2 separate regions of the Homo sapiens genome follow, and region 1 is linked to region 2. The links are contacts of gene promoters, found by promoter capture Hi-C in blood cells and fetal thymus (Javierre and others, 2016). All regions are on one chromosome and are shown on one strand. The core of a region is centred on a gene start or on the middle of the fragment in contact, and the rest is flanking DNA. Distances in the headings are between cores, read along the strand shown. Region 1 overlaps LOC107987282 (a long non-coding RNA gene). Region 2 holds the start of WFDC3 (WAP four-disulfide core domain 3).

Evidence for each region. Contacts are between HindIII fragments. The CHiCAGO score rates a contact against its expected background, and 5 or more counts as called.
Region 1: a contact is called between a fragment that was not itself captured here and the fragment with the promoter of WFDC3 in region 2, in 1 of 17 cell types (M1 macrophages). The highest score is 5.6, in M1 macrophages.

The regions. Positions count from the first base shown.
Region 1 is chr20:45,499,105-45,504,604 of GRCh38, forward strand. The region is part of intron 1 of LOC107987282 (a long non-coding RNA gene); the gene reads left to right. Among named protein-coding and RNA genes, the nearest start is that of SPINT3, 14 kb to the right of the region's middle. The HindIII fragment of the contact is 666 bases long and covers 2,464-3,129 here.
Region 2 is chr20:45,788,119-45,793,485 of GRCh38, forward strand. It overlaps WFDC3 (WAP four-disulfide core domain 3), which reads right to left and starts at 3,765. Exons shown (of 7, transcript NM_080614.2): 1 at 3,714-3,765; 2 at 1,776-1,864; 3 at 813-941. The coding sequence starts at 1,857. It overlaps DNTTIP1 (deoxynucleotidyltransferase terminal interacting protein 1), which reads left to right and starts at 3,836. Exons shown (of 13, transcript NM_052951.3): 1 at 3,836-3,991; 2 at 4,559-4,629. The coding sequence starts at 3,887. RefSeq lists silencers at 3,919-4,188, 4,399-4,538. The HindIII fragment of the contact is 10,060 bases long and covers 446-5,367 here.

The DNA of each region.
Region 1 (5,500 bases), core at 1,547-4,046, 290 kb before region 2:
AGCTTGGGCAATGTGGAGAGACCCCGTCACTACAAAAAAATTAAAAAATTTGCCCAGCATGGTGGTGCACACTTGTGATCCCAGCTCTTCAGGAGGATGAGGCAAGAGGATCTCTTAAGCCCAGAAGTTTCAGGCTGCAGTGAACTGTGATCACGCCACTGCACTCCAGCCTGACAAACAGAGCGAGACCCTGTCTCATAAAAACAAAAAGAAAGAAAAGTTGCAAAAATAGTACCAAGATTTCCTGTATACCCTTCACCCACATTCCCGAAATGCTAACATTTTACAACATTTTTCTTAATCCTCTCTGTGTCTGTCTTTCTCTGACACACACACACATACACACACATATACCCCACATATTATGTTTGTTCATAGCATATGGGAATAAGTTGCAGACATCTTAAATACTTCAGTGAATTTTCTAAAATAAAGGTATTCTTTAAAATAGCCTCAGTACAATAGTCACATTCAGGAAATGAGCATTAATACAGTACTATTATCTAATCTAGAGGCAAAACTGGCTACATAATTGTAGGGGTACCCAGTGCAAAGTAAAAATGTGGAGCTCCTTGTTCAAAGAAACAGGGGAAAACATCACTAAAGGTACTCAAATAAAAGGCTTTTTTCTTTCTTGCAGAGTCTCTCTGTCTCTAGACCTCTCATGGAGCTTTTTATTTATTGTTTCTGTCACTCTCCCTCAGGCACGGGGATAGTTGTGGAGCAGTGCAGACCCTCAGAACTACCTAGGGTCCCTGACCGCTACTTGGTGGTGTGTCCTGGAGGGTTCCGCTTGCTGCTGAATTCCTCCTCATGCCAGCTGCCAGACTGAAGCTCTGTGACCCAGCTAGGGGTGGGAAATCAATCTTCCTTGTCCATAGGTCCATTGCACCAACCCATGGATGGGCAGTCCCCAAGCGATTGCAACCTCTGTGCTGAGACATGCTCAGTACAGGATCAGGATAGGTGAGAGGCTGGCTCCTGCCAAGTCACCAGTTGAATGTATTGTGCTGCTGCCAGCCTGGGACTGGGACAGTAATTGGCACTCCCTGAAATGCCACAGGATGTGCACACCTAACTCTGACCCTTCCTGCACCCTTTCCCAAGCCCCCACTGGGAGTGGTTGGCAACGGTAGAACATGAGCCTCCCCTTGCCAATGTGATTCAACTGTCATCTGCATAGCAGCAGTCAGGGGGCAAAGGTGGAAAGGGGCGGGCTGAGCAGAGCCATGGTGTCAGTGGGTGGAGGGCGAGTTGCTGAGAACCCATCCCAGGGAGGCAGCAAGAGGTGGCACTGCTCTTGAGTCCGGACGCCTAGCTCCTGGAGCATGCACCATCGTCTAATTAACCTTCACTTACAAACACAAATTTAAATAACTGAGAATTTTAAGACAATGACCACAGGGAATTACATCCTGGGTGCAGGGTCCTTCTGTGTCCAGGGCCCTGTGTGATTTGGGTGCATGCCTACAAAGCCCATCTCTAGACCTTATTCGGATTCTACAAATTGTCTCAATAATGTCCTTTACAACAAAAGAAAATCTTGGATCCTGTGTTGCATTTAGCTGTCACACCTCTTTAATCTTCTTTCTTTTTCCTTTTTAAAATTACTTAGTTCAGGAGCAGATCTTCCTTTAATCTTCTTTCATCTGGAAAAGTTTCTCAATCTTTTTTTGTCTTTCATGACATTAACATTTTGGACGATTAAAGGCCATGTATTTTACAGACTGTCTCTCAATTGAGTTTATCTGCTATTTCTTCACAATTAAATTCATGTTATGCGTTTCTGGCAGGAATACTATAGAAAAGATACTGTGTTCTTTGTGGTGGATCATACCACGAGGCACATGCTGTTGATTTGTTTTGTTACTAATGGTGTTAACTTTGACTACTTGAGTAAGATGGTGGCTGCCTATTTTCCCATTTGCAATAAATAAGTATTTGTGGGAAGATACTTTGGATCTATGCAAAAATATTATTACTTCTCAAAATTTTACCCACTAGTTTTAGCATACATTGATGATTCTTGCCTAAATCAATGATTATTTAATGGTTGCTAGATGATGTTTTCCTTTTATTTTTTTCTTTTATTTATGTTTTTTGTAGAGACGGTCTCGTTATATTGCTCAGGCTTGTCTTGAACTCCCAGCCTCAAGAGTTCCTCCCACCTCGGCATCCCAAAGTGCTGGGATTACATGTGTGAACCATCATGCCCAGCTGTTAAATGATGATTTTCTAATTCTATCCTTGACCCCTTGTCTACCTTTACTGAGCCCTTTTTGGCTTCCTATCCTTGCCTACGATGTGACATTTTGATGTGTTCCATCTACTCTTCTGAGCCTGTGGGCACGATGCGGGTAGGGGAGGTTTGGGACTCTGATCTCTCTGAGGTTTGGGTTAAATGTCTTAAGCCAGGGTTTACTCCATTAGTTAATGGAGTGTCTTACTCCCGAGAGGGCATTAAGCTTCACTTTCCCACCATCCTTCTTTCTCTCCTTCCTTCCTTCTATAATTCAGAGACTATGAGAATCATGGCTCTGACTCATAGCTTAACACTTTAACTCTAAAAAAGAAATCCCAGGTCCCTCTTTTCCTCCATGGTATCATGTCTACAAAACTAATCTACAAGTACTTGTTGAGTACTTATTCTGTGCATACCGTTTTGCTTGGCTCACTGTAGAGAAGAAATGTGTAAGGCAAAGTCACTGCTTTCAAGAACCCACAGCTGTAAACATGAAGAGTAGAAGCAGGCAGGCCTGGAATATCTCTGTGTAGTCTACATGGAGAGGTCCAGGGGATTTTATGGGATGGGGAGGTAAATAGGTCATGGCAGAGCTGAACTTTAATGATAGCAAACTGATTAAAAAGCATTGGCTCTAGAATTAGACTTTGATTCCAACACCATCTTCATTCCTTCCTAATTTGTTATTCTGGGCAAGTAATTTATCTTTCTGACCTTCAACTTTTTCATTTGTAAGATACAGATATTAATAGAATCTTCTTCTCAGGGCTATTGCGAATATTAAATGAGATAATGCATGCAAAGCACTTAGGTTGGTTCCTGACATATCCTAAGTGTTTCATAAACAGTAGTTATTAAAATCTTAAAGGAAGGTATTATGTGTCAAAAGCTTTTCAAATGCATGTCCACAGTTGACCCAGAAATTCCACTTAGAATCTATCATGAGTAAACAACCAGAAATACCCATAGTGATTACTTACTATATCGAGAAAACCTCAACAACCTTTAACATTTAACATTAACATGTAACCATTGAAGCTTGTTTAAATAAATGGTGATCTCTTTATGCAAGTAAAGCTCTACACATATTAGCAATTATGTTACAGAATATTTAATGATACAAGAAAATCTTTACCTAATATTGTCAACTGGGTAAATCTATGAATCTGCATTAATATATATTCTTAAACTGTTCTCTATCCCATATATTCTTTCATTCTTCCCAGAAACATTTTTAAAGGACTTGAGGAGCTTGCCACTGCCCCAAGGGGCATTTGGAAGATTTTTCTCTAGCAAGTGTGAATTAAAAAATTTAATGGGACCTCAATATTATGTCAGGAGGGTTCTTCCCAGTGCTCATGTAGCATATCTGGCACACACTAGCCTCTGGTACACTTTGTGAGAGTTAAGTTTATCTGTTTGTCTTTGCATGCCAGCAACTTTTATAACACAAGAGCTCTCAGAATCCAGACATGGTGATTTAGAACTACTGGGTATTTGTACTGATAGGGACCAGGCACTATGAGCCTTAAGCTTTCACCTGTGAATAAATCTCAGGGAAGAAGGAGAGGAGAGGGAAGAGACCAAAGAATCGACATTTTCTCCCCACAGTGTGGCCTTTTTATTGATTTAAAGAGAAGAGACGTGAAGCTGCAAAACTTTTTTGGTAGCAAAGCAGGGTGTTTTTATCAGTTCTTATTTTTTGCTTTGAATTCTCAATGCCACTACCTCTGTCCAAGCTTACAATCCGTCATAACCAGATGATGGTAAAGCTGCCCACCCTGTTTCTCTAAACAAATCTTCCCAATTCTAGAACTGAGACTTTTTTTTTTTTTGAGACAGAGTCTCACTTTGTCTCTCAAGCTGGAGTGCAGTGGCATGAATTTGGCTTACTGCAACCTCCGCTTCTGGGTTCAAGTGACTCTTATGCCTCAGCCACCCAAGTAGCTGGCATTACAGGTGTGCACCACCATGCCTGGCTAACTTTTTTGTATTTTTACTAGGTTTCACCATGTTGGCCAGGCTGATCTTGAACTCTTGGCCTCAAGTGATCTGCCCACATTTGCCTCCCAAAGTGCTGAGATTACAGGTGTGAGCCACCACTCCCAGCCAAGAACTGAGACTTTAAGCTCTCACTGCATTTGACTCTGGGCAAGTTGCTCCTGGTGGCAGTCAGACTTCTCAGATGACTCCAATGACCTCCACTTCCTGGTTTTTATGCCTTTGTGTGTTCTCCTCCTCGAGTGTGGACTGAACCTAGTGACTTGATTCTAATGAGTAGTGATGTCATGGAAAATGTTGGGACGTCACTTCTGAGATTAGGTTACAAAAGACTATGACTACAATAACTTATTGTATATTTCAAAATAGCTAGAAGAAAAACTTTGGAATGTTCCCAACACAAAGAAATGATAACTGCCTTGGGTGATGGATATGCCAGTTATTCTGATTTGATTATTATACATTGTGTGCATGTATCAAAATATCAAATGCCCCCCATAAATATGTATAACAATTATGTATTAATAAAAAAAAGACTGACTGGGCTTGGTGGCTTACACCTGTAATCCCAGCACTTTGGGACGCCGAGGCAGGTGGATCACCTGAGGTCAGGAGTTCGAGACCAGCCTGGTTAACATGGTGAAACCCCATCTCTACTAAAAATACCAAAAGTAGCCAGGCATGGTGGCACATGCCTGTAATCCCAGCTACTCGGGAGGCTGAGGCAGGAGAATCGCTTGAACCTGGAAGGTGGAGGTTGCAGTGAACCGAGATTGCACCACTACACTCTAGCCTGGGTGACAGAGTGAGTGAGACTCCGTCTAAAAACAAAAGACTGTGACTTCTACCTTCTATTCAGTCTCTCTGGAGCTTCTTGCTTGCTCACTCTGATAAAGCAATCTATAGGTTATGAGCTGCCCTCTGGAAGGACCCACTGACCAACGAACTGGAAGTGACCTGCAAGCAACTGAATCCTGCCAGCAACCATATAAGTGGGCTTGGAAGTGCATGCTTCCCTAGTTGAGCCCCAGCCAGCCAACAATTAGACTTCATCCCTGTAGAAGACCCTGATCCACAGGACTAGTTCTGTAGTCCTTGTGTCCTGCCTCTTCCCTCACCTCCTGTGAGAGTTCCCCTGAATTCCTGCCCTGGTGGTACAGAATGGTGTATCCAGTCTGCCCCCACTGCAACAGAACTGCCTTCTCTTTGGGAATTTGTTTCTTCACAGAATCACAGGATGTTATTTTCAAAGGGTGT
Region 2 (5,367 bases), core at 2,515-5,014:
CATGGAGAAACCCCATCTCTACTAAAAATACAAAATTAGTCGGGGGTGGTGGCACATGCCTGTAAATCCCAGCTACTTGGGAGGCTGAGGCAGGAGAATCACTTGAACCCGGGAGGCAGAGGTTGCGGTGAGCCGAGATCACGCCACTGCATTCTAGTCTGAGCAACAAGAGCGAAACTCCGTCTCAAAAAAAAAAGAGAGAGAGAGAGAGAAAATAGTGCCTGGCAACACCCACGGGCACAGCAGAAGGGAAAAACAGAAAAAGGAAGTCCTGAGATTTATTTAAGCCTCTCAACCCTGGTGCTAAGACAAAGAGACAATAATAACAACAATAGTAATAGCAAATATTTACTGTAACATTTACTGACGTTTACCTTGTGCCATGAACATCTTATTTGATCCTCACAATTATCCCCATTTTATAGATGAGGAAACTGAGGCTAAAAGCTTAAGATTTATAAAGAGCTAAGGCTTAAGGCTTAAAAAGGTCTGCTTGGCTCTAGGGTCTACTCTCTTAATCATTATCTTACACAGCCTTCCCTTTACAACTCTTCCCTCCAGCCTTCACAGGAACTTTGAGTCCAAAGTAAAAGACATAGATAATCAATGGTGCGCTCTTTCCTGATGGAAGGCAAACAACTGGGGGCACTGAATAATTAAAGGAGGAGGGACCCTAAAAGAGTAAAGAAGAAGTACTCTAGGCAAGGGAGACTTCCAGAGGCAACCTAGAAGGTGGGAAGCTCTCTACTTCCATCTATCCCAGAGGCAATGTCAGAGAGTATGCCCAGATTTTGCCCCTCATGCCAACATACCCTTAGGAATGTCTCGGCAGATCCGACCACAGCCTGTGGTGCAGCACTTCTGTTCAGCCGGACACAATTCATCACCCTGGCACAGCTCTTTGCATGGGTTCTTATGGGGAGGGCATTCTCCCTCTTTTGCTGCAAAAGATACTATTTGAGTTTGGGGTAACTAGCCAGGCCTCAGAAATGGGGAATGGACCTTCAGCCCCTCCAGGCATCTCTATCCAAAATATTTCTGCACCACTGCACTCTAGCCTGGGTGACAGAATGAGACCCTGTCTCTTAAAAAAAAAAAAAAATTCTGGCTGGGCACGATAGCTCATGCCTGTAATCCCAGCACTTTGGGAGGCCGAGGCGGGCGGATCATGAGGTCAGGAGATCGAGATCATCCTGGCTAACACAGTGAAACCCCATCTCTACTAAAAATACAAAAAATTAGCTGGGCGTGGCGGCGGGCACCTGTAGTCCCAGCTACTCGGGAGGCTGAGGCAGGAGAATGGCGTGAACCTGGGAGGTGGAGTTTGCAGTGAGCTGAGATCACGCCACTGCACTCCAGCCTGGGTGACAGAGTGAGACTCCATCTCAAAAAAAAAAAAAAAATTCTGCAACCACCTTCCCCTCCTCATACACAAATACTAACATATATCCACCACTGCTAAAGGAGCAGCCATCCTGCAGATAACGAGAGAGAAAGGGTGGGATGATCCTGTTCTCATTTAATGAGTTCTAGGGAAAAGCTAGAACCTCTAGTAAGCCCAACTGGAAGTCCTATCTCCTTGTCCAGAGAGGGTAAAGAAAGCCAGGAAGAATGACCCAGGCCATCCTGAGAATCTATTCATCCAGTCCTGTCCTATAGAGATGATCATCTCCACTTACAAGCAACCTTGCTCTGGGAGAAGGCAGGGGATGAGTTCTCCTCTCCTCTAGTCACTTTCTGTTACTGTTGGCCAGGGATCCCAAATGATAGCTCACCATGTTCTCCTGCAGTTATCCAGGATTCCAGAGACCCAAGAGCAAGAAGTGCCTTCAGAAGAAAGAGGCAGCTTAACATCATGATGATGCTGAGAGTTGGGACAAGAGCTCAGTTCAGGCTAGAGGTGTACACCTTGCCCAGAGTATCAGCTGAGGTATGAGCAGGACTAGGGATGGCCCCAAACCCAGTCCCAAAACCTTCCCTTTCACAATACTCCCCAAGAATATCTTCTCCTGACAAGAAGAAGAGGGATTGGCTGCTGGAGTGTGGGAAAATTCCTGGCACTACCAAAGGGGACCTGTGATGGGAGGATCAAATTCTGTAAGCAATATACACAATATTCCTGGATGATGAGAAACCTAGTGGGTGGCTGGAAAAATGGAGGGGTGGCCATTGGAAAAAGAATCAAAGAGAGCCCTAAAGGGCATTGGAAGGACATGGCTTTAGCCCAAATAACAGAGGGAGGGATTCACGACACTACTTAATGGCCAAAGCTAATAACATAACCAAGCATAATAAAATTGTGGCTCCTGTTCATCCTAGCAACCAAGAAAATACAGAATGGAACAGACCACTCAGAAACTATCAAATAGGCCAAGGCGGGCAGATCACCTGAGGTCAGGAGTTTGAGACCAGCCTGGCCAACATGGCGAAACCCTGTCTCTACTAAAAATACAAAAATCAGCTGGGCATGCTGGTGCATGCCTGTAATCCCAGCTACGTGGGAGGCTGAGGCAGGAGAATAGCTTGAACCCAGGAGGCAGAGGTTGCAGTGAGTGGAGATCATGCCACTGCACTCCAGCTTGGGTAACAGAGTGAGACTCTGTCTCAAAAAAAAAAAAAAGAGAGAAAAGAAACTATCAAAAACCTACAGAAAAGCAGTAGTTGAGTTTGTTAAGAACTAATGAAAAGCACCAAACACCTACATCTTTGTCCCTCTAACCCACACAGGCCATTCTTGGACTGTATGAAGTCTAGCTGGCAGAACCCAAGAGAAGTTGCTATGTATGACTCAAATAGTCTGCCCACATATACCTCCTTTATTTCTTTTTTCTCCATTTCTTTTTTTCTTTATCTGTCCTGGTCATGCCTTTGGTTAGCTGTGATACCTAATGGTGTCCACTGGCACTGCTTAGTCCTATGGGCAGGTACAAGGTAAAACCTCCTTAATAGGATCAAAAAGTTTGGAGCCAGGAAGTCGCCCTTATGGTTAGAAGGCTGATGTTGGCTCATGGAGATAATTAACATTTGATGATGACCTCATATGTGCCTAATATGCTTTTTTTTTTTTTTTTTTTTTTTTTTTTGAGACAGAGTCTCCCTCTGTCCCCCAGGCTGGAATGCAGTGGCGCGATCTCGGCATAATTAACATTTGATGATGACCTAACATGTGCCTAATGTGCTTTTTTTTTTTTTTTTTTTGAGACAGTCTCCCTCTGTCGCCCAGGCTGGAGTGCAGTGGCGTGATCTCGGCTCACTGCAACCTCCGCCTCCTGGGTTCAAGAGACTCTCCTGCCTCAGCCTCCCGAGTAGCTGGGATTACAGGTGCCCACCACCACGCCCGGCTAATTTTTATATTTTTAGTAGAGACGGGGTTTCGCCATGTTGGCCAGGCTGGTCTCGAACTCCTGATGGCAAGTGATCCTCCCGCCTCGGCCTCCCAAAGTGCTGGGATTACAGGCGTGAGCCACCGCCCCTGGCCGAGCATATTAAAATCTAGTTTTCAAAAACTGAACTGCAGGCGCCGCTGTACCAAACGCTTCCCTCTGCTCCCCAACCCCAGCCTACAGAAAACTGGTCCCTTCCTCCTACCCCGCAGTCATCCCCAGGCCTTGGCCCAGCGGGAAACATCCCTTGACTGAACCGCCACTGAACACCCACACTGCACAATCGAGGCGCAGCCCTCCCGAGAGGAAGCCCCAACGACCTCCACCTACAAGGCCTCTAAGTGTAACTGTCCTGGGCGAGGCGCGGCGGTTCGGTTCCCATGGTAACCCCGCAGCTCCAGCGTCGCGCTTCCGGGCGGACGAGCAGCGCGCTCCAGTGACGTCACGGCGCCACTTTCCGGCCGGTGACAGAGTCCAGCGGAGTTGTGGGGGCCGGGGGCGCCATGGGAGCCACTGGCGACGCCGAGCAGCCGCGGGGACCTAGCGGGGCCGAGAGGGGCGGCTTGGAGCTGGGGGATGCGGGCGCAGCGGGGCAGCTGGTTCTTACGGTGAGGGCGCCCCCGGTGAGGTCTGGGCTCAGGCCGGGCACGGCCTCGGGGCTCCTGGGACCCTGGCCCGCGGGCGAGAGAACGCGGAGGCTGGAGCTGCAGAGGGGGTTGGCGTTTTCGCAGCCCGACGACCTGGATTTAAATTCTGGTGCCGCCCTCCTAGCTAGGTGACGTGGGCCATCTCTGTCAACCCCCTGAGTCCCAGGATCCTCTTCTATAAAATGGAAATGATTAGTACCTGTCTCATAAAACTTGTTGTGGGATGGGAAGATAAAGGCGGGTACAACGCCCCGGACATCACCTGACACAGAGTTGACCCTCGGTAAATACTGCTTCCCTTCCTCCTGCCGTGCCAGAAGGCAGGGTCGGGACTTTTAAGGCAGGAAACTTCCTCAGTTCCTCTTTTGTGGAGGAGGCCTTACAACTATCGTCCCACCCCAAGGCGGGAGAGATGGTGACGGATCTGAGAAGCAGGGATGTCCAGGTTTAACTTCATACCCACCCTCCACCTCCACCCCACCCCAGTGTCACAGGCCGCAGTGACATTTGTTCCGTTGGTCCCCACAGAACCCTTGGAACATAATGATAAAGCACCGGCAGGTGCAGCGGAGGGGCCGCCGCTCACAGATGACAACAAGGTAAGGCTGGCCCTGCATGGGGCTTATATCCCAGCCACTGGCTTGCATGGCAGATTTGGGATCCCCAGTGCACAAGGCTATGGAGATCTACAGCCGGTAGAAAGAGCACAGGACTGAGGAAGAGGAGACTCCGATTCTGTAACTCTGTGTGATCTTGAACTAGTCAAGTCACTTCCTTCTCTGAACTCACGTACAAAATGGGGAAGGGCACAGGAGATGGGTTGTGGAATAAACAATACCTAAGATCCCTCACATTCACTGGCTCTGTGGTTGAGGGCTCTAAAGAGGTCAGTTAGCATGGAGTTTAAGAGAACAGGCTCTGGAGTCAGACAACTGTGTTCTCATCAACAGACTCTGATGAGCCCGTTTTCTCAACTATAAAGAGGGATTAATAGTATGCATGTCAGGGAAGGGAGAGAGCACAAGGTGGGCCTTTGGGATGCTGATAGTGGTGAAATGGATGTTCACTATAATTACTCATTAAAGTGTATAGACTTTTCTGTATAAGTATTATATTTCATAAAAACACTTTGGGCCGGGCGCGGTGGCTCACGCCTGTAATCCCAGCACTTTGGGAGGCTGAGGTGGGTGGATCACCTGAGGTCGGGACTTCCAGAACAGCCTGACCAACATGGAGAAACCCCGTCTCTACTAAAAATAACAAAAAATTGGCCGGGCGCGGTGGCTCACGCCTGTAATCCCAGCACTTTGGGAGTCTGAGGCGGGCAGATCACCTGA